7 separate regions of the Homo sapiens genome follow, and all the other regions are linked to region 5. The links are contacts of gene promoters, found by promoter capture Hi-C in blood cells and fetal thymus (Javierre and others, 2016). All regions are on one chromosome and are shown on one strand. The core of a region is centred on a gene start or on the middle of the fragment in contact, and the rest is flanking DNA. Distances in the headings are between cores, read along the strand shown. Region 1 overlaps ABCA1 (ATP binding cassette subfamily A member 1). Region 2 overlaps ABCA1 (ATP binding cassette subfamily A member 1). Region 3 overlaps ABCA1 (ATP binding cassette subfamily A member 1). Region 4 overlaps ABCA1 (ATP binding cassette subfamily A member 1). Region 5 holds the start of FSD1L (fibronectin type III and SPRY domain containing 1 like). Region 6 overlaps NIPSNAP3A (nipsnap homolog 3A). Region 7 overlaps ABCA1 (ATP binding cassette subfamily A member 1).

The links. Contacts are between HindIII fragments. The CHiCAGO score rates a contact against its expected background, and 5 or more counts as called.
Region 1: a fragment that was not itself captured here is called in contact with the fragment with the promoter of FSD1L in region 5 in 6 of 17 cell types (activated CD4 T cells, naive CD8 T cells, total CD4 T cells and 3 more); the score reaches 9.8 in activated CD4 T cells.
Region 2: a fragment that was not itself captured here is called in contact with the fragment with the promoter of FSD1L in region 5 in 7 of 17 cell types (naive CD4 T cells, naive CD8 T cells, non-activated CD4 T cells and 4 more); the score reaches 6.6 in naive CD4 T cells.
Region 3: a contact is called between a fragment that was not itself captured here and the fragment with the promoter of FSD1L in region 5, in 3 of 17 cell types (monocytes, naive B cells and total CD4 T cells). The highest score is 9.1, in monocytes.
Region 4: a fragment that was not itself captured here is called in contact with the fragment with the promoter of FSD1L in region 5 in 1 of 17 cell types (monocytes); the score reaches 5.2 in monocytes.
Region 6: a fragment that was not itself captured here is called in contact with the fragment with the promoter of FSD1L in region 5 in 2 of 17 cell types (monocytes and activated CD4 T cells); the score reaches 8.3 in monocytes.
Region 7: a fragment that was not itself captured here is called in contact with the fragment with the promoter of FSD1L in region 5 in 8 of 17 cell types (non-activated CD4 T cells, total B cells, fetal thymus and 5 more); the score reaches 7.2 in non-activated CD4 T cells.

The regions. Positions count from the first base shown.
Region 1 is chr9:104,852,984-104,855,853 of GRCh38, forward strand. All of the region lies in intron 7 of ABCA1 (ATP binding cassette subfamily A member 1), which reads right to left. Among named protein-coding and RNA genes, the nearest start is that of ABCA1, 74 kb to the right of the region's middle. The HindIII fragment of the contact is 9,731 bases long and covers 1-2,870 here.
Region 2 is chr9:104,871,620-104,874,838 of GRCh38, forward strand. The region is part of intron 5 of ABCA1 (ATP binding cassette subfamily A member 1); the gene reads right to left. Among named protein-coding and RNA genes, the nearest start is that of ABCA1, 55 kb to the right of the region's middle. The HindIII fragment of the contact is 809 bases long and covers 1,108-1,916 here.
Region 3 is chr9:104,783,945-104,787,006 of GRCh38, forward strand. It overlaps ABCA1 (ATP binding cassette subfamily A member 1), which reads right to left. Exons shown (of 50, transcript NM_005502.4): 47 at 2,929-3,032; 48 at 2,354-2,446; 49 at 1,452-1,695; 50 at 1-511. The coding sequence ends at 371. It also overlaps a transcript of NIPSNAP3B not described here. Among named protein-coding and RNA genes, the nearest start is that of NIPSNAP3B, 21 kb to the left of the region's middle. The HindIII fragment of the contact is 596 bases long and covers 1,445-2,040 here.
Region 4 is chr9:104,803,690-104,806,898 of GRCh38, forward strand. ABCA1 (ATP binding cassette subfamily A member 1) reads right to left here. Exons shown (of 50, transcript NM_005502.4): 31 at 2,552-2,741; 32 at 937-1,031. Among named protein-coding and RNA genes, the nearest start is that of NIPSNAP3B, 41 kb to the left of the region's middle. The HindIII fragment of the contact is 3,067 bases long and covers 222-3,209 here.
Region 5 is chr9:105,446,606-105,449,716 of GRCh38, forward strand. FSD1L (fibronectin type III and SPRY domain containing 1 like) reads left to right here and starts at 1,429. Exons shown (of 14, transcript NM_001145313.3): 1 at 1,429-1,630. The coding sequence starts at 1,616. RefSeq lists a silencer at 1,310-1,919. The HindIII fragment of the contact is 4,464 bases long and covers 355-3,111 here.
Region 6 is chr9:104,756,340-104,759,413 of GRCh38, forward strand. NIPSNAP3A (nipsnap homolog 3A) reads left to right here. Exons shown (of 6, transcript NM_015469.3): 5 at 2,746-2,832; 6 at 2,923-3,074. The coding sequence ends at 2,999. Among named protein-coding and RNA genes, the nearest start is that of NIPSNAP3B, 6.3 kb to the right of the region's middle. The HindIII fragment of the contact is 8,593 bases long and covers 1-3,074 here.
Region 7 is chr9:104,835,520-104,838,350 of GRCh38, forward strand. It overlaps ABCA1 (ATP binding cassette subfamily A member 1), which reads right to left. Exons shown (of 50, transcript NM_005502.4): 10 at 1,909-2,048; 11 at 1,461-1,577. Among named protein-coding and RNA genes, the nearest start is that of NIPSNAP3B, 73 kb to the left of the region's middle. The HindIII fragment of the contact is 5,491 bases long and covers 1-2,831 here.

The DNA.
Region 1 (2,870 bases), core at 299-2,798, 590 kb before region 5:
AGAAGCTAAATAAAGACCCCTCAAGACAAGGATGACTTTGTTCACTCCTTATCCATCTGCTTCTTCGATCTGTACACAGCTCAGCTGTGACATTACTTGTCTTCTGGGAGCCTCGGGGCACCCTCACTTTCCCTTCTTTCCCTCATGAACCAAGATCCACTTGGTGGGAATGTGCTAGGCACACTGGAAGACACGTGGACAGTGGAACCACTGGTTCCACAAAAACCACTTCTTTTTTTTCCCCACGTTATTGAGATGGAGATAAATCTGCATGCCTGGACTTCCAACCTTAAGGATCAGACACCATTTTCACATCACTGAGGCAATGGTGAGTCAAGGACAGAGCCCAAACCTAGCTCATTCAACCCCACATTCCTCCCACTACAGCCCACAGTGTCTGTGTTGGCAAAGACTGCTGTGAGGGAGCTGGTCGAGAGGTCATCAGTGAAACTGGAACGAGGACAGCTCTCACTCTGTAGACCCAGGACCTACAAAGAATTCCTCAAATTCCCAGACTCAGCCTTCAGCCTGGATCTCAATGCCCATCAGAATGAAAGCTCCAAGTGCATCACAACTGCCTTGTTGGTGGTCGAACTTCAGTGCCTAGAACAGTGCTGGTATAAAGCAGACATACAATAAACACTTGATGGATTTTTTTCGATGAATGTCTCATACCTAGTTCAGAGATGTTCTCCTCCCAAAGTCACCTCTGTTTGGTTTGTACATTAAAAACCCTAATAGGTGATGCTTATTATGCTTTAGAGTCACTTTCCAAATATGGGCAAGAAAAAGCAGAGAGCTGCAGAGGGGTCAACAAAAGCCAAAGGCACTGAGGGAACACTTCAAATATATGATAAACTATTCCTTCCAATCAAGAAAGCTACAGCAGACTGAATATCCCCTGCAAAGATGTCCACACCCTATTCCTGGAGTCTGTGAATATGCACATTTCATAGCAAATGCACTGTGTAGATGTAATTAAAGTTATGAACCTCAAAATAAGGAGATTATCCTGGATTATGTGAATGGGCCCAAACTAAACACCTGAGCCCTTAAAAGTAAAGAACTTTCTCTGACTGGAGACAGATGTGACAGGAGGCGTCAGAGGTTTAAAGTGTGAGAGATACTCAACCCACTTGTGGGAGAGGAGTCACATGAAAAGCATAAGAAGGAATGATGGCAACCTTTAGGAGCAAAAACCAGCCCCTGCTGACAGCCAGCAAGGAAATGGACTTCAGTCCTACAACTGCACGGGACTGAATTCATCTGATATCCTGGATGAGCTCCAAAGCAGATTCATCTTCAGAGCCCCCCCAAAAAAACACAGCCCCACAAACACCTTGATATCAGCCCTGTGAGCCTCTAAGAAGTAGACCTAGGTGAGCTCTACTGTATCCTGGCTTCTGGCCTTATGAAATAATAAATGTATGTGGTTATAAACTGCTAAGTATTTGGTGACTTGTTATAGTAGCAATAAAAAAAAAAAGTACAATCGGAAGCAAATCAATCTCTCGGGCCAAAATTTGCTGGTCCACTACTATGGCTCCTTCCTGCAGTCCAAAACAGATTGGAGGTTTCTGTGAGACAGGAAGGTGGCCCTCTCCTCGCTCTGGGAAAGGTACATGCTGCTTTAGGAAGGACCCAAGAGAAAGTTAAGAAAAGTTCACCTGCCCAGCACACTCTACAGCAAAATACACCTTGCTGAGCAGCAAGACAAAAGAAGCCCCTGCCAGGTGGCCCTGAGCTCCTCCTAGAAGTTGTTAACTCAACAGTACAAATACAATGAGCGCACTCCATAACAAGTCTCCCTCATGACTAAGTGCATTTATCCCACAGATAATATTTCATATATCCACCCACCTTTGTTCTCATCAAAAGGATATCTTTTGAGTTGAGTCCAGCTCCTAGAAAATACCTGACACATAATAAGAACTGAATAAATATTGCTCAATGCATGAGTAAGATTTTTAAGTAAAAAGCAGAGAACACCTAATGGAAACTGCTCTTAACCCCAGGGAACTTTAAAAACACAACAGCGTTCTGACATCCAGTATTAATTTTCACACAAGGTACGGACTGAGACATAAATAAGAATCTTTGGGTGAAAAGTCTTGACAATATCTGAGCAAGAATGCAGTTTTTCACTGAAATACTCACCAGGACCACTTCGCTTGGTATGAGTTCTAACACTGATCTACAGAAGAAAACTTCTATCTTTTTTTTCTTTTTCTGAGACAGAGTCTCACTCTGTCACGCTGGCTGGAATGCAGTGGAGTGATCTCAGCTCACTGCAACTTCCACCTCCTGGGTTCAAGCGATTCTTGTGCCTCAGCCTCTTCAGTAGCTGGGATTACAGGTGTGCGCCACCACGCCTGCCTGGCAAATATGTGTATTTTTAGTAGAGAGGGGATTTCACCACGTTGGCCAGGCTGGTCTTGAACTCCTGGCCTCAAGTGATTCATCCGCCTCGGCCCCCACAATATGCTGGGATTACAACAGATGTGAGCCACTGTGCCTGGCTGAAAACTTCTATCTTGACGCAATTGTTTTCAAGGACATAATTTCTACTACTCATGTCAATTAAATTATCAACTTCTATTTATTGAGCACCTATTGTGTGCCAGGCCCCACACCAGGCTCTTCATATGTGTAACCAATAATCACAACAAAGAGTCAAATATATTATGTGTATGTAGAAGAAGAGAAAACTGAGGCTTACAGGGACTAAATAATTTATCCGACATCAATGCTGGTAAAATATTCAAATGCAATATTCAAACCCAGACCCAGCTGACCCTCCCACACTGCCATACTTTCCCCATGTTGCCAAAACACTGCTTTCCAGAGCACCCAGATTCTGAAGGAGGCCC
Region 2 (3,219 bases), core at 262-2,761, 570 kb before region 5:
CAAAGAACCAACATCAGAAAAAGCAAGAAGATAGCTGAGATGAAAACTCTACCTGAAGACCAGAGAGGCAGAAAAATGAGAGAGGACAGCTGGAAGACAAAAGGAGTGAAAAGAAGGTAAGAGATAGGAAGTATGAAGAAACAGAGTCCAGAAACAGGAAAGACTACATCAAACAGAAGGGGAAGAGAGAAAAAGAAAAGAGAGTTTGAGGCATTCAGTTCCCAAGGATGAGCTGGTCTCTCACTGAAAAAAGGGACCAGACACTTCAAACACCACACAACATGGGACTAGAATCAGCCTGCAGGGCCCTGAGAAGTCCAGGCACAAAAAGAACGGAAAAAGATGAGTTTACAAGTTGGGGATGAGATTCTTCCTAAGGCTGGTCTAGGGAAGAATTAACATACACAATGTATAAATAGTTTAATTTTTTTCTAACTTTTAAAATTAACAAAATTTATTAAGGGACATAGTAGTGCTTTGTGGGCACAGAAAAGTGACTCATATTTACCAAGCATTAGGCACACTATTAGCATTATTTTCCAGAATCTTTAAGAACAGCCTATAAAGAAACGTATTATTATTCCCATTTTTCAAATGAGGAAACAGATCTGGAGAATATCTTGCTCAGGGTCATAGAACAAACAAGTGGTAAATTTGAACCCAAACAGCTTTGACTGCAAAGCTTTGGTTCTTTCCACTATATCAGCAATTTAATGAGATGTTTTAAAAATGCTTCATCGTGATATTGGCCTCAAAAGCTGGGGATGGCACCTATGCTTCCTAATGTTGGAATAAGCAACATGGCAGCATAGTGTGGGGAGAAAATGCTAAGCCTAGGAGTCAGACCCCGATTCAACGTACAACTTTACTCTTTAATCTTGGACAACAGACATTACCCTTTCGAGCCTCGGTTTCCTCATCAATGAAATGGAGATAATAATACCAATTTGCCCCTGCTAGTGCTGTTTGAAGCCTTCAATGTAATAATATATGAAAAATGTAAAATGGTATCATTATCCGGTGCAACTTAGTCTGTTGAATAGTGTCGCACTGAGATTGCCTTTTGGTGCCTCAATGCAACAGTGACAAGAGGACCAGAAATGGGAAAGCTTTCAATGAGAAACAAACTGGACTCCCAAATTGCTCTTTGCCACCCACAGAATAAATAAACCTTATGCTGGAAAAGCAGGAGACACGCAACACTGTTCTTGATGTTAACAATTCAAAACTTTTTAAAGGCAGTCTGATATTTGTGGGGATACACACTATTCTGTAATCGAATGCAATTGTGTTTTCTATTCTTGTCTGAGTAAAGCTGATCTTTGATTTGATTTAGTTCAAGTAATATTTCAACATTGCAGTGCAGCGTTGCTCCCCACCCCCACCTGCTTACAGCCCAGCTGGGCCCAGGCCCTTGCCCTGGATGGAAATCAAAGACCTGGTTTCTGAGATGCAGCCTGGCTTTGACAGGTCTGGGAAAACTCATGGTAGTGGAAAGGTTTCCAAATATAAAATTCTAAGGCCTCAAATCAAAACTTTTGACAAGTGCATACATACAGAACGTGAATTGCAATCACCTAAAGATTTCAAAGAATTTCCATTTTGATGACATAATGTTGACACATGTATCACCAGATCTCCCAACAAGATGACACACTGGGGTTCCACAAGGACAGAAAATATAGTCTGAGGCTGTAACCTCAACTTTAGCAGCTGCCTGAATGGGTGAGGGGGTTCAGACAGAAAATGAGAAGTGGCTGTGAGTCACAGGATGTTCTTTCTAGATGGGCCTTGGGAAACATTCCATCGGTGCCTGAAGCCAGGAAGTGGAGTGAATCTGGCATTTCTTTCAGAAGCCCTCTTGTCTCCTTTCTCATCCCAGCCAGCCCATGCCCCATGTCCTGTGACTTTAGGGAAGCTTCTGGCTACTCAGAGCTGCTCTCTTTAGGATATAACAACAACAGAGCACGAGAAACTGGAATTCTGGTCCTATTACTGCCCCTTGCCAGCTGTGCTTTCTTAGGCAAGTTACTTGGCCTCTCTGAACTTCGGCTCCTTCATGTGTGTATCCCCTGCATTTTATGATGATTGTAAAAATGCAGTGAGCTTAAGAACAAGCCTGGTACCTATGCTGGGCCAGGCACTGTACTAAGTGCTTCCCCTTATTCGTCCATTAATTTGCCACAATAGTCCTGAGGGAGGTACTATTGTTATTCCATTTGAGGAAACTGAGGCACAGAGATGTATGGAATTATCCAAGGTTACACAGCTGATAAGCATCAAGCCAAGATTTGAACCTAGGCCATCTGGCTGCCAAGTCTGTTCTCTTAACACGAAGGTATATTTCCCAGGGAATATTTACAAGATGTTAATTTTCTACCCACTTCCCTCAACTCCCTGCCACAGCCAACTATCTTGCCATGTCACCAAAGCCACCCTGCTCCCTGGAGCTCACGTCTTTTTGATTTTCAAAAATCAAACCAGAATCAAAGGTCCACCCCACTGAGTCCTTAGTACTATCAGTAAATCTGACAGCCAGAGAGGCATGACCCTTTTCCCTAAGTAAAATCCAGTATAACCCTGGGGACTAATTTCCAAAAAGATTAGTCAGAGCCATATCAGAAAGGCCAAACAGGCTGGGCATGGTGGCTCACACCTGTAATCCCAGCACTTTGGGAGGCCAACGCACCTGAAGTCAAGAGTTCAACATGGCAAACATGGTCAGGAGTTCAAAGATGGTCAGGAGTTCAAATGGCCAACATGGCAAAACCCCGTCTCTACTAAAAAATACAAAAATTAGCCAGGCCTGGTGGTAAGTGCCTGTAATCCCAGCTATTCGGGAGGCTGAGGCAGGAAGAATTGTTTGAACCCGGGAGGCAGAGGTTGCAGTGAACCAAGATCGTGCCGCTCCACTCACTCCAGCCTGGGCAACAGAGTAAGACTCCGTCTCAAAACAAAAACAAAAACAAACAAACAAACAAAAAAACAGAGCCGGGCGCAGTGGCTCATGCCTGTAATCTCAACACTTTGGGAGGCTGAGGCAGGTGGATCAACAGGTCAGGAGTTCGAGACCAGCCTGACCAACATGGTAAAACCCCATCTCTACTGAAAATACAAAAATTAGCAGGGCAGCCAGCCGCCCCGTCCGGGAGGGAGGTGGGGGGCAGCCCCCGCCCGGCCAGCCGCCCCGTCCGGGAGGGAGGTGGGGGCCAGCCCCCG
Region 3 (3,062 bases), core at 493-2,992, 660 kb before region 5:
GATTACTTGATGAATTATTGTTGCAACCCCAATGAGAATACACAGGAACAAAAAAAAAAAAAAAAGTGTGAGTTCAAACCCATATGTCCATTGGGTTCCATAATAGAGTTTCACATAGGTATAGGTAAAAAACTAAATTCAAGTCTTTCACTTGAGAGCCATACAAGACATAGGCTACAAAGGCACTGCCCCTGTAATGGAATTTTGTTTTCATTGCATTGAATTGCATTGCATTGAATAGTATCAGTACAGTATCCAGTTTACTTCTTCCCACATCAACTTCTGGCTCTTTTCTCCACAACACTTCACATGGTGCAAAGGAAAGTCTAGTTCCTCTTTACTTTCAGCCACCCCGTATGAACAGGATTCTTCATACATAGCTTTCTTTCACTTTCTCATCCTGTAGAAAAGATGTGAGAACTGCAACGTCCACTACTGTCTGGTTTTTGTGTAATGAGAGGTCTTTTAAGTGGTCATCATCACTTTGGTCCTTGGCAAAGTTCACAAATACCTGTTAAAAGATTAAGATGGACCTTTATAAATACCACTCAACTTGCTCATTCTTTATTCTAGTTCTATTTTTCCAGATGTTGAAATTAGGTCAAGTAGGAGCATACAGAATTACATAAATGGATTAACTAGAAAACTGTGTGTGAAGGAGGGAAGAATACTTGAAAAAAGCAATAACAACTTAAAAATAGACTTTTTTTCCCCCCTTGAAATGGGGTCTTGCTCTGTCCCCAGGCTGGAGTGCAGTGGCGAGACCTTGGCTCACTGTAACCTCCACCTCCTGGGTTCGAGCAATTCTCCTGCCTCAGCCTCGCAAGTAGCTGGGACTACAAGTGCGCACCACCATGCCCAGCTAATTTTTGTATTTTTAGTAGAGACGGGGTTTCACCCTGTTGGCCAGGATTATCTGGATCTCCTGACCTCATGATCTGCCTGCTCCTCAGCCTCCCAAAGTGCTGGGATTACAGGCATGAGCCACCACGCCCGGCCAAAAACTGACTTTCTATATCGCCCCCCACCCCTACATCACCAACTGCTCAGTCATCCATTTACTTTGGCACATACGGTCTTGATTAAAGGGAAGAGGGAAGAAAATATTTACTGAGTACTTCTTAAGTGTCAGGACCTATTTGGTACTTTTTTATCTAATTTAAATAGGATTAGGCACCAAGTAAAATGCCTGGCCCATGGTAGGTGCTCACTAAATGGTAGTTTTTATGGTTATTATTACAGTAAATTCTCACAATAATCCTATAGAGTACATAGGCATCATCTCCCTTTTCAGGTTCAGAGAGGTTTAGTAAAAAGCATAGCTAGGAATAGTAGATCAGGAATTCAAGCACCAATTCAAGATACAAACTGCTCTTGGACCTATGGGCGGGAGTGTCGGGGCAGGAATCCACACCCTGAGAAGTAAATCTGTTTTGACACTCAAAGCTTACTTGGTCAAGTGTTGTCTGAGAAACAGAGTAGTCTTCTATGTGGAGTCGCTTTTTGCTCTGGGAGAGGATGCTGAATATCCTGGCCAGAGAAGATAATGAAGATGGAAGCTGGTATTGTAGCATGTTCCGGTGTTTCTCTTTTAGAACACTTCCAGGAAATGCAAGTCCAAAGAAATCCTGGACAGGCTTCAGGTCCGGGTTGGACCCTGCTATTCGTACAACTATTGTATAACCATCTCCAAACCTGAAAGCAGGAAAAAATACCCAAATGGAGGATCTCCAGAAAACTATTTAAAAGAATACTGAACCCTGGGAACCCAACTTGTGCCATGAAAAAGGGCGGCCCCTGGCAGGCCCAGAAATAAGTTTCTGAGAGAAGGAACCAGTTATCATTTACTAAATACTTATTTTATGTGAAGCACCATGCCATGTGCTGTAAATACATGATCTCCTTTAATCCTCACCTGGACCCATGAAGTCTGACAGATGTTACAGAGAAACTGAGGCCCAGGGAGTTAGTCACTTGCCCATGGCTCAGAGCTCATAATTGGTAGGGCCAGGATGCAAACCCATTTGTGTTTGACTCCAAAGCTTGCGCTCTCACCAGTACTGGCACATGTAAATTTTTTTCATTTCATCTATAGCACAAAGCTAGGAGGTAGATCTTCCAGGGAAACTAACTCTTACAGTAGTTAAGTCACTTGCCCAAGAGTCACAGAACCAGTAAATGGTAAAGACAGAATTTGAATGCAGTTCGGACTTCAAAGCCCTCATTCTTTCCACTATACTGTTTTGCTCAGTTTTATTTCCCTTTATGTTAGAGGCACCATTTATATACTCACAAAAGAATAAATATCAAGCCTTCTCACTAGGCACTATCCCAAAGAAATTATCTTTATTACCTATTTTTTAGATGCTGGACACTGCCAAGGCACCTGAACCTTCCATTGACCATGATTGCCATCCTAGTGCAAAGAGCTTCACATTCTTCCATACTGCGGTAAAACAGAAAGAGGTTTTAGTTTTAGAGAGATTCTCTGTAACCATGAGAACATCACCATGACTTCCAGCATTCCAGCTTCCTAGGGAATTGTATTCTGTTACAAGTACATGTGGATATAGGGATGATGCTGTTCAGTGTAGTGGTGTTTACAATTGTGAACAAGTTGGAAATAATCCAAATGTCTACAAAAGGGGGAATAGTTAAATAAGAGTATATCCTAATGGAATACTATCCAGCTATAAGAAATGACACCTAAATGCACTGACTTGGAATAATGTTTACAATATATTAAGTGAAAAAGAGCAGTATTTATACTGGGCTTGCATTTTTGTAAGAATATGCATATATAATTTCAGGTAATAATTGTTTTACTCTTTGCTTTTCTGTATTTTCTAATTTTTACAAAATGATCGCATATTCTACTTGGAAAGTTAAAACATCCCACAGTGAGGAACCCAAGACTTTACTACGGACCTATGAGATGTAAGCACTACTGATCTCCCCTCCTTGACAACACTTAGGGCACAATTCCACAAGAACCGCCGGGCTTTGGGATCCATGCCTGTGGTGGGTTCATCCTGTAATTAGAATAAAATAAGTCTTATTTG
Region 4 (3,209 bases), core at 505-3,004, 640 kb before region 5:
CTCCGCCTCCCAGATTCAAGCAATTCTCCTGCCTCAGCCTCCCAAGTAGCTGGGATTACAGGCACGCACCACCACGCCCAGCTTATTTTGTATTTTTAGTAGAGACAGGGTTTCCCCATGTTGGCCAGGCTGGTCTCAAACTCCTGACCTCAAGTGATCCACCCGCCTTGGCCTCCTAAAGTGCTGGGATTACAGGCATGAGCCACCGTGCCTGGCCTAGAAGCTTTTTCAATTAACAATAATATTTCAATTGTGGATGACATATGGAGAAATTATGCTTCTTTCTTAGAAACTCATGGTCACTATCACTCCAGCATGCCCATGCCATTTAAAGTCACTGAGATACTCCTAACTGAAAGACCCCAACTGACCAAGTTGATGGGAAGGAAACGAGAACAAACATTTGCTGAGCCAAGCATTCAACACTAGGCTGCCATGTCCTGGGAAGCTAGAAGGCTCTCCCAAGGCTGCAGAGCCAAGGCAGGCTCCTAAACCTTCCCAGAGCTCCCTCCATGAGACCACAAATTATCATGGAGTCCCCCATCAGAGAGTACCCAAGGCACTCTATGTACACCATTTAATTTAGTCCTCATGACAAACTTATAAGAGCAACATTAATATCACAATTTAGATAAACTAAGGCTTTAAAAGGATAACCAGTTACCTGGTCAAGTTGCTACTAAGTGGCAAAATTTGACGTTGAATCCATTTCTATTTTCATTCTAGACCAGGCTGCCTCAGCCTTGAAGCTGACAACTGAATGTTCACAGTCCCTCTCGTCATCTTTTCTAGTTTGGGATAATATCCTAAACTTCCAATAGACAGAATCAGGCCATAATCTGGCATTTCCCCCACTGTTTCAGTCTGTTATTTGTAGGTCTTTAATTCCTCTAATTAGTAATAATACGGCAGGGGCCAAGTTTAGTAAAAAGTCACCTTTTGGCTATGATCTGCACATACGTCTTCACCAGATAATCCGAAATGTTTCTTCCTGTCAGGTCCTGAAGGATATCTGCAGTGTTTTGTTTTCTCTGTCATCACATGAAAACCAAGCATACGGGTCTTTATAGACAAGAATTGAAACAGAAAACAAATCAAGGACAACAGTGACCATGTCCACAGTGTGACCGGAAACCTGACTACAGGTCCCAGACACTGCCCTCAGTCAACCAGCACTGAGACTTGGTTCACCCTGCCCTCGGCACTGGTAATTCACTTACACCAAGCCAAGGTCTTTCCCAAGAATTTATTCTGAACATCTAAACAATAAACATTGAAATGAGATTCTTTGTAGTCAAGAGATTTTTAGGAAGCACCATCATTCACTATGCCTAATAAATCTTCTGTTCACTGGAGTTATACTGATGACTAGATTAGCTGTTATTTTATTCATTTTATTTTTTGATATGGAGTTTTGCTGTGTTGCTCAGGCTGGAGTACAGTGGCGCAATTTTGGCTCCCTGCGACCTCCACCTCCCAGGTTCAAGCAATTCTCCTGCTTCAGCCTCCCAAGTAACTGGGATTACAGGCATGTGCCACCATGCCTGGCTAATTTTTGAATTTTTAGTAGAGACAGGGTTTCGCCACATTGGCCAAGCTGGTTTCGAACTCCTGACCTTAGGTGATCAGTCCACCTCGGCATCCCAAAATACTGAGATTACAGGTGTGAGCCACCCCGCACCTGGACTAGCTATTATTTTCAAGAGTGGTAACCAAGCCTTCTTTTAGTTCCTGTACTCATTTAGAATTGCTTGTCCTCATCCTGCAATTTGGTTGCTGATAAAAGCAGCAGAGAGCTATCATAAGCACTCCTCTTCCTGAAATTCTCAAGAAAAAAAAAATGGCTCAGGACTCCTTCCCAAACAGAGTCTCTAAGAATACCAGAGTTGACAAGATCCACAGGAGTTTTCTGGTCCAGCCTCCCTAATTCAGAGGTGAAGAAACAGGCCCAGGCCTGTCAAAGGCTACCAGCTCATTTGTTGCAGAGCCAAGATTGGAAGCCAGGCCTGCCACAGTCTGTCCTGTGACTTTACTGCTGTGGGACAGGCATGGGCACAGTGTGGTCCAAACCTTCTCCCCTCAAAACTCACATGCTTTTTCTTATGACAAGAAGCGAGTTAAAGACTGAAACAGGGCTGGGCGTAGTGGCTCACGCCTGTAATCCCAGCACTTTGGGAGGCCGAGGCGGGTGGATCACCTGAGGTCAGGAATTCCAGACCAGCCTAGCCAACACGGCGAAACCCTATCTCTACTAAAAACACAAAAATTAGCCAGACATGGTGGTGCGTGCCTGTAATCCCAGCTACTCAGGAGGCTGAGGCAGGAGAATCGCTTGAACCTGGGAGGTGGAGGTTGCAGTGAGGCAAGATCATGCCACAGCACTCCAGCCTGGGCGACAGAGCAAGACTCCGCCTCAGAAAAAAAAACAAAAAACAAAAAAGACTGAAACAGACCCTCCCAACATGATATCTCACTCATTCCTGCTTCCAAGCGGAAGCTACCAGCCCATCCTGCACCCCTTCTGCCCAATCACCCCCTGAAAGTGACTCACTTGTGGAGGAGGCAGCCCCCCTGCCCCTGGGGGACACACAGGCAGCATCTTCTTGATTTTGTCGCTGCTACACTGGCATGCAGGTGAAGGGTTCTGCATTGTCCAGTTCCCATTCTGGAAGAGGTCCATGATGGTCTGGGGAACTGGGGCAGTGGTCCACTCTTCCTCCCCTGCCTGGCAGGGCGTGTCTCTGCAAAGGGAAGACAGCAAGAGTAGGATTACCAGAGATGGCCTGGCCTTTCTGTTGCCTCAGGAGCACAGGATCATTCCGTAACAACCACAAACATGCATCTATTCCCTCACCATTTGGAAAAGACAAGCATGATCTCATTTGATTGCTTGATCCCACAACAGCCTTGTACACTGTGACATCATTTATATCATCATTATGTATCATTTTATACATAAGTAAAATAGAATGCAAAGAGGCCCTAAATATTTACATACTGAACTCAGTTCAATCCAATCAACCAACCATTTGCTCACACAACAAACATTCGTTGAGCATCTACTACGTGCCAGATGCTGTCCAGTATATTCGAGGGCCTAAGGTGAAAATACCTGCCTTCATGGAGGTGTATGCCCATGGAGGAGACGAACAACAAATACACTAATAAGATAACCTTAGATGGCCCAAAATAAAGCAAAATAAAAAGAC
Region 5 (3,111 bases), core at 179-2,678:
AGTGATCCACTCATTGGGCCTCCCAAAGTGTTGGGATTACAGGTGTGAGCCACCATGCCTGGCCTAAGTTTTAATTTTAGCACCTATAACCGTCTAGCACGTTAACTTTTTTTTTTTTTTTGGTTGGTCTTCTATACTAGATTGTAAGCTCTGTGAGAGAAACAGGGCCTTGCCCACTACTGAATTTTGTTTGTAGAACTGGTACAGAATAGGTACTCAATATGTATTTCCCTTTTATTCATTCATCATAAATGACTGTCTAATTGAACTTTTGTGAGCCTCTCCAGAGTCATCCAAATGGAAGATGAGGCCTGTCTGCTTGAGGAAGAACTTTCTCAAGCCTACTAAATTCCAAGCTTTCTAAAATCTTCATTGATGCCTCAGGCCACACCGAGCAGGTTCTAACTCCCCACTAAGAATGACTATAATGGGCCTGGCACATGCCCTGTAACCCACACCTGTAATCCTAGCAATTTGGGAGGCTGAGGTGGGCGGACTGCCTGAGCTTAGGAGTTCGAGACCATCCTAAGCAACATGGCTAGAACCAGTCTCCGCTAAAAGTACAAAAAATTAGCCAGGTGTGGTGGGGGCGCCTGTAATCCCAGCTACTCATGAGGCTGAGGCACGAGAATTCCTGGAACCCGGGAGGCAGAGGTTGCAGTGAGCCAAGATGGCACCACTGCACTCCAGCCTCGGTGACAGACCGAGACTCCATCTCCAAAAAAAAAAAAAAAAAAAAAAAAAGAGAATGACTATAATTTATTCACTACTAATTATGTACCATACGTTATTTAATCCTCACAATCCTCTGCAAAGTCCGCATTATTTCTCTCATTTTACAGATGAAACAAGCTCAGGCAGACTGACTTGCTCAAAATCATACAGGTAGCGAGGTGCCGGGGAGGATGGGTGGGTCCCCGGGAAAAACTGTGCCAGGCCCCAAAGCTCATATTAATCCCACACCCACGTTTCCGCCACTCTCATCCCTATATCCCTCCTCCCACGTTTCCACCACATCCCCTAAAGGTCTTTTCCCACGTTTTCGCTACATCCCCACCCCAGCCCTTTTCCTCCCTTTGGACCGCTGGGTCCGCTCAAGCCTGGCTGCCCCTCGAAGGATAGTGTGGGGAGGGGCTTCAGATGCGTGCTGGGTGGAGGGTGGGCTAATCCGTCTCCAGCACCAGATACTCTTTCCTTCCCGGGCCCTCCGCACCGGCCGGCTGCTGGATGCCCAGTGGCCTATTTCAGGGCCGGAGAGACCGCTATCGCTGGAGGAAAAAGGATGGGGGAAGGGAGTGCAGCCTGCAGAGGCACTAGCGGTAGACAGACGGGCGGCGCTCCCCACCCTCCACGGCTACTTCCCGGGAGCAGTCAGCCGCTGCGCGCAGGCGCGGTGCGCTCCTCAGCCCCTCCCTTCTGCGGGCCGCCCTTTCACCCTGGCAACCGCGGCGTGACTACGGCGCGCGCGGTCTGGGCGCGGACGGGTGGGGCCGGGCGGTGCCGGTGCGGGCTGGGGCAGTGCAGTGAGTAGCGGTCTTGGGGTGTGCGATCTCGCTGAGCCTCCTCACACGGTTCGTCGTCTCGGGTTCGAGCCCAGTGGGCTTAGCCACTCGCCATGGACTCCCAGAAAGTAAGCGGGGGAGGGGAGCCCGGGGCTACCGAGACAAGCCGGGCCGGCACAGGGTGGGCGGGGCGCCTGGGCCCGTGGGCTGTGGGTGCGCGGGGTGGGCCTGGCCGGGCGTCCGGGCTGCTGCTGCGGAGGGCAAGGCCGCCCGGCCGCTCTCTGGGCGGGAGCTAAGAGGCGCCCACACGGATGCGGGGACCGCGCCCGGTGACTCGGGCTGGCCTCTGCTCTGCGCGCTGTCCGGGGCCCTGACTCTGGAGGAGAAACGGAGCCATCCCCCTTTTAAAATCAGCCACTCTGCAGCGCTTTAGGCCGGTTTTCATGCCTGCAGACTGCGAGCGTGCTGGTGGGGGTGTATCCCTCCTCAGCAGGTGAGGAAACCGAGGCACAGCCTTTTTGGTGTCTCCCTGCTGACGCCGAAAGCTGGGGCTTTCTCCTCGACCAAGTCTCGTCTCAGCACCACGCTCTTTAGGTCAGGGACCGAATCTCCTTTGTACCGCCCACCGCTCCCCTTCCCATGACTTTTCCTAAGTAGATCTTAGTGTTTAGTGTTCGTTGAATGGAGGGAAAAGACTTCAATTGTTAGGGCAGCCTTCCCACTCTCTGACCAGTTGGTGTTGCTGGGCACAGTTACTTAGGGGTCGTTGTGGAATGTTTTATACTTTCCGAACAGTTGAGGAAAGGTTATATAATCGTAAAGGTTCAATTCAGAAGTATTTGGAGAACAAAGCCAATGTCTTGAATACAGTTAGAAGTGAATTATTCAGTCATAATCTCCATATGAAAATAACCACCCTGTTCTCTTTGTTAGACTATAACGTAATTGAAATATAGTACAGGGTAGGAAAGAAAAAACAAGGAGTATTAATAATGTAGCAGGGAAAACAAAGACATATCTAAGAGACTATTCTTTTCTATTATTAGAAAGCACGGGAAAGACTTAGAACAACGTTTTCTACAATTTTGTCTACATTCACCTTCTTGAGGATCACTTCACTGAGGGCATGAGAGAATAATGATGTGTTGAGCATTGACTATTACAGTATTTAACAAATATGCATATGATTTCATTGTATGTGTTGGTCTTGAAACTCACCTTGGAATGCATGACTATTCTTAAGGCATTTTTTAAAAATTAGATTTTGTGTATTTTGAGTATGTATAGGTTTAAAATATTGTCTCTGCCTAAATTTGTAAAACATCTCTCAGCTTATTAGATAAAAGAAATGATATTTGAATGGACATTAGCAGAGGTCAAGTGAAGGAGCAAAGTCCGGAGACATGGGTTCCAGGATGCTATTTACTAGCTCTGTGATAAGGAGCAAGTCACTTAACTGTGATTAATCTGTTTCCTCATCTATGCAGTAGAAGTAAGAGTATTTTATAGTGTCATAGTAAAAATCTGATAAAATAGTTTGTTCTGAAAACACAGCATTTTAAAGTTTACAAAGTATGACCACTAAAATACTGTGTCCCATAAAATACAA
Region 6 (3,074 bases), core at 1-2,500, 690 kb before region 5:
AGAAAAAAAAATCAACTTATGATTTTATTATACAAAGGCTCAAACTATCTGGATGCCTGAAAATCACCATAAATGAAATTCAAAAGCAAAAATAAAAATAAAAATTTATGCAAAAGTAGACATGCACATGGCTACTAAATATATATTAAAGAAAATGCATATTAAAACAATAATGAGATGCCATTTCTTTACCTTATAAAAGGTATACTTACATGGATATAGTATTAGGTCAGGAAAAAATAAGTACTCAGATACTGTGTAGGGTTCATATTAGCTTAATCTTCCCCCAAAATTTGACAATAAAAATAAAAGCCTTATTTTTATTGTTTTTGCCAGTATTACTTCTAGAAAATATGCCTGGGTGTGTATGTGTATAGGTGTGCTAAATTATACAGAAAAGAAATTTGAAAGTATATAACATACATAGTAGTCATATTTCAGTGAGATAAATGGTTAAGTCTCTATGTTAATATTCTTTTTTTTTTTTTTTTTTTGAGATGGAGCCTCGCTCTGTGGAGTGCAGGTACGATCTCAGCTCCCTGCAACCTCCGCCTCCTTGGTTCAGGCGGTTCTCCTGCCTCAGCCTCCCAAGTAGCTGGGATTACAGCTGTGTGCCACCATGCCCAGCTAATTTTTGTATTTTTAGTAGAGACAGGATTTCACCAGGCTGGTCTCAAACTCCTGACCACAGGTGATCCGCCCGCCTCGGCCTCCCAAAGTGGTGGGATAAGAGGCCTGAGCCACTACACCTAGCCTCTACCTTAATTTTCTATACTGCACATATTAAGTTTTATTTTTTTAAAAACTACAGAAAATGTGTGTTCATACACTTTTTAATCTTAAATTCATTCTCAGTGTTAGGAGAATTGGTAATCAGTACATCATTTCTGGAGGACAGTGTATACTATATACACTATATGTAAGTACATATATATAAGACATGCTCTTTGGTTCTGTCAACTTAAATTCTACTTTATATTAAGGAAATAATCAGATTCAGACTGCCTGGGTTTGAATCCCAGGTACACTACTTACTTTTTGACTTTGGGTAAGTAAACCTCACCATACCTTAGTTTTTTCATCTATAAAATGATAGATTATTATGAGGACCTAGATTATTATGAGGATTAAATGAGTTAATACATTAAAATGCTTAAAACTAGGCCTGACACATAGTTATCATTCAATAAATGTCAGTAGTTGTCATCGAAAGTATTATTATAAACACATAGTTGTGCTCAAATGAAGTTTATGTTAATATTGTTTACATTAAAGAAACATTGGAAATGTAGTATGACCTTCTTTATGTAATACATACGTAATACAGAAATCGATATACATGTACGTCATATCGTGTATTTACATAAGCATAAGCAAATATGCTTATATATGTTTATTTGTATACATATACAACTATATATAAAAATACAGGCCAGGCGTGGTGGTTCATGCCTGTAATCCCAACACTTTGGGATGCCAAGGCAGTAGGATTGCTTGAGGCTAGGAGTTCGAGACCAGCCTGGGCAACAAAGTGGGAACCTGTCTCTACAAAAATAAAAATAAAATTAAAATTAAAAAATAAAAATACATATATACACAAATATAGAAAGAGATACACCAAATATAAAAGAGATACACCAAAAATAAAATGATTAGTTTGTTTTTAATCTGCATTTTCCTATACATCTAACATGTATATATTACAATTATAAAAACTTCATAAGCAATTTTGTACAAGAACAACATTTATTCCAGTATTTTATAGAATACTGAAATATTGGAAATAGTCTAAATAGTCAACAATAAGGGGTTGACATAATAAGTTGCTGTATCTGTAAGGAGGAATTTATATAACCATTAAAAATTAATATTGCCATAGAAAATACTGTTTTTAAAAACTTGTTACTAAGCTAAATCTGTTATTATAATATACAATAAGACCCTGATTTGGTTTTACTCATATTTTCTAAAGGAAGTACAATAAATTTCCATAGAGGTTTTCTCTATACTGTTAACATTATACCACTTTCAATTTTCTTCTTTGTATAATGTAAAATTTTAATAATAAGCACAATTTGCTCATAATTTTGCTTTTTTAAAAATCAAGGGAAAATATAGTAGGAAATCATAAAATTTGGGTCTTGTCTTGATTGTGCCTCTAGCTGTTTTACTTCAGTACTTCCGTTTTCCAGCCTTCTATTTCTTCATCTATAAAACCAATTTGATTAATTTATCAATTTCTCTAGCAAGTCTCTGACCCCTCTGAAATCTTATCAGTAACATATTTAGTTTTACCTTTTTGATATCACTATTTCGATTTAAAGAATAGGATGGTTTTGGCCAAGCGCGGTGGCTCACGCCTGTAATCTCAGCACTTTGGGAGGCTAAGGTGGGCGGATCACCTGAGGTCAGGAGTTCGAGACCAGCCTGCCCAACATGGCAAAACCCCATCTCTACTAAAAATACAAAAAAAAAAAAAAATTAGCCGGACGTGGTGGTGGGCGCCTGTAATTCCAGCTACTCAGGAGGCTGAGGCAGGAGAATCGCTTGAACCCAGGAGGCAGATGTTGCAGTGAGCCGAGATCGTGCCACTGCACTCCAGCCTAGGTGACAAGAGTGAAACTCTTGTTTCAAAAAAAAAAAAAAAAAAAAAAAAAGAATAGGATGGGTTTGATTCATTTTTCTGTTATTTCTTATTTGTTAAGGCCATATTTTTTAGAAGCTACTTGTGGTTTATTTCTGCAGTTCATGTTCTTTGGTGGAATGAGAGTGCAGATAGTCGTGCAGCTGGGAGACATAAGTCCCATGAGGATCCCAGAGTTGTGGCAGCTGGTAAGCTGTTTGACTAGGCATGAATTATTTTTAGAACAAATGTGTTTCAGTCAGTAACTCTATATGCCTTTCTATGAAATGTTTTTCCAGTTCGGGAAAGTGTCAACTACCTAGTATCTCAGCAGAATATGCTTCTGATTCCTACATCGTTTTCACCACTGAAATAGTTTTCTACTGAAATACAAAACATTTCATTAACTGCTATAGGATCTGTCTGCTAATGGTGCTTAAATTCTCCCAAG
Region 7 (2,831 bases), core at 64-2,563, 610 kb before region 5:
CTTGGAGAGCCTCCTCCCTGGTCTCTGCCTTCATTCTTGCCTCATCCTTCTTCAATTCATCCACCCCATCAGAGTAACGTATCTACATCTCCCCTTGCCTGGTCCCCTAGAGCTTAAAGTAAAGGTCCTCAGCTTGACACACAAGTCCCTCCAAGGCATGCCCATGCCTTTCTCTCCAGCCCCAGATCCCTCATTTCCAAGCATACACACTGGATTTTCCCAGCTAGATTCCTAATGAATGCCATTGCCATGTTTACAAGGATCTTGTCCTTTAAGAACTGGGAGCTTATGAAGAATTGAAGCACCTAAGGCAAAGTCAATTTCAGACTAGGGAACCATCTACTTGCCCACAAATCAAAATTCACTGAGTCACTTCACAGGGCCTCCTATAATCCTCTGAGAGCCAGACAAACAGAAAAAGTCCAACTAGTAGAAATATGGATTCCAAGGAGAGGACCAGGAAGAACAGGTCTGAAACCACACTTAGGTCTACGGGGCTAGATCATATAACCCTCCTTTAGAGAAGAGACCCCACTTTAATGGCATGAGCTATATTAGTCAGTGTGAATCCATACAAATCACTGTTTATGCTTTTCTCAGTATAAACTCCTTTGTTTTTAAAGGGACTTCCTCAGTAACCTGCCTCCCAGCGGATCAGGGAATAGTCCTAAACTTCGGAAGTGTTCCCCCTAGGTAGGTACAGTCTCTAAAACCCAGCCGCCCTTAAAGTCAATAAGGTTCAAAACAAGAAACCTGGCAAAATCCTCACCTGCTTCTTAAGGGGAGCAGAGACAAAAGGAAGAGGCCTCCCTCACCATGGAAACAGGAAATAGTCTAATGATTCTCTAACTCAGCCCAAGGCAGGAAGATGTGATTAACAGCACTCAGGCTCAGGCAAAGGAGACATTCTGTTCTTGCTCAGCCTGCTCCACATTTGAACCCAATTGTCTCTAGAGCACTTATCCCTTTCAAGTGGCTCTGAAGCACTAAGTGCATTTCCCCTCCACACAGTAACAGCAGCTCATCATTCACACAGTGCCCTGAGAATGAGTATCTCAGGCCAGTCTACATGTAACATCATGCTTTTGCTCCCACACTTCTTTCCAAAACCTACCAAGACACAGGGAGATGCTGTGGCTGGCTGAGAGGCTGCAGCCAAAAAGGAAAATAGGGTACTGCAATTACTCAACTCCACTTCCAAACACCAGCCCTCACTAAGTTTTGCAGAAAACTGCTATTTGACCGTGAGTGGCATGGATGCTGATATGCACAGCGTTATCTCTGCACCATGGCCTGTACTTCTGGAGAGGTGGTGCCCTGTGACTTTAGCTATGCTCACTACATTCCCCCAGCTAGATAAACTGAAAGAATTCTCACCTCACTCACACCTGGGAAAGTGACCAGAAACTCACCTCTCCAGTATCAAGCAGGCACATGGTAATAATGGGAGGGACACTCACCCGGACAAGGTCCATTTCTTGGCTGTTCTCCATGAAGGTCCAGATCTTGGGGCTGAGTTCCTCCCACATGCCTTCCAGATCATGGAACACAGCCAGTTCCTGGAAGGTCTTGTTCACCTGGAGTCAGGTGGGGAGCCAGGGACCGCAGAAAAAGGAGGAGAAGCACAGACAATGAGCGTTTGGCTCCTCCCTGAAAAGATACCCCATCACAGCAGCCCTGTGCCAGTCCTCCCCATCCCCAAGAAATGCCTGCTTGTAACTATGATTCTATACCCACGACTGGGGAGCTGGCCCAGCTCTGGTCTGCATCAGACTTGAGGTTTTCACTCTGGGAATTCCAGAAGAGCCGTGAGTATACTTAGCGCACACCTCTGAAGCTACCTTGAGTTTTTTGCCCCCAGTTCTGGGGAGATTCTGGGGAGGGAGTCTTGGGCTGGGGGCAGCTTACCTCAGCCATGACCTGCCTTGTGGCTGGAGTGTCAGGTGTATACAGGATCTTCCCAACGAGCAGCGGCTTCAGAGCTTTCCAGATAATGCGGGAAAGAGGACTAGACTCCAAATTCTTCATCAAATCATTGCAGTAAGGAGCTATGAAGAAGAGGAGAGACAAATGCTCATATGCATGGTCATATACTGATAGAAACTTACAAGGGCTTTGGAGCCAGAGAGTTCTTAGTTGAAACCCCAGCTCTACCACTACTAGTCATATAATAAGTAACTTATCTGAGCCTCAGTTGGCTCCTCTGTAAAAGTAAAATTCATAACATCTATGTGGAGAGATGTGGAGAAGATTATCTCAGATTAAACTGAGATATCTATAAAGAATGATGCTTGATAAATAATCAGAGCTTATTATAACGTCAATGACGGATAACTCACGACTGAGCTGATCTGGAAAAATGTTTTCATGAAGCACAAGCCCTCCCATCCAGATTCACACTCTCATGCCAGCCTCACCATTGTTTTCACTGACAACTAACATGACCAACATTTAAACTGACTCTTGAGGGGCAACCAGAAGGCTGAATTCAGACCTCAGTTTTCAAGCAAAAACCAAAATTTGGGGCTGGGCGCAGTGGCTCATGCCTGCAATCCCAGCACTTTGGGAGGCCAAGGCGGGCGAACCACCTGAGGTTGGGAGTTCGAGACCAGCCTGACCAACATGGAGAAACCCTGTCTCTACTAAAAATACAAAATTAGCTGGGCGTGGTGACGCATGAGGCTGAGGCAGGAGAATCGCTTGAACCCAGGAGGCAGAGGTTGCAGTGAGCCGAGATTGTGTCACTGCACTCTAGCCCGGGCAACAAGAGCGAAACTCTGTCTCCCAAAAAAAAAAAAAAAAATTCTCAACAGGGCGCAGTGGTTCACGCC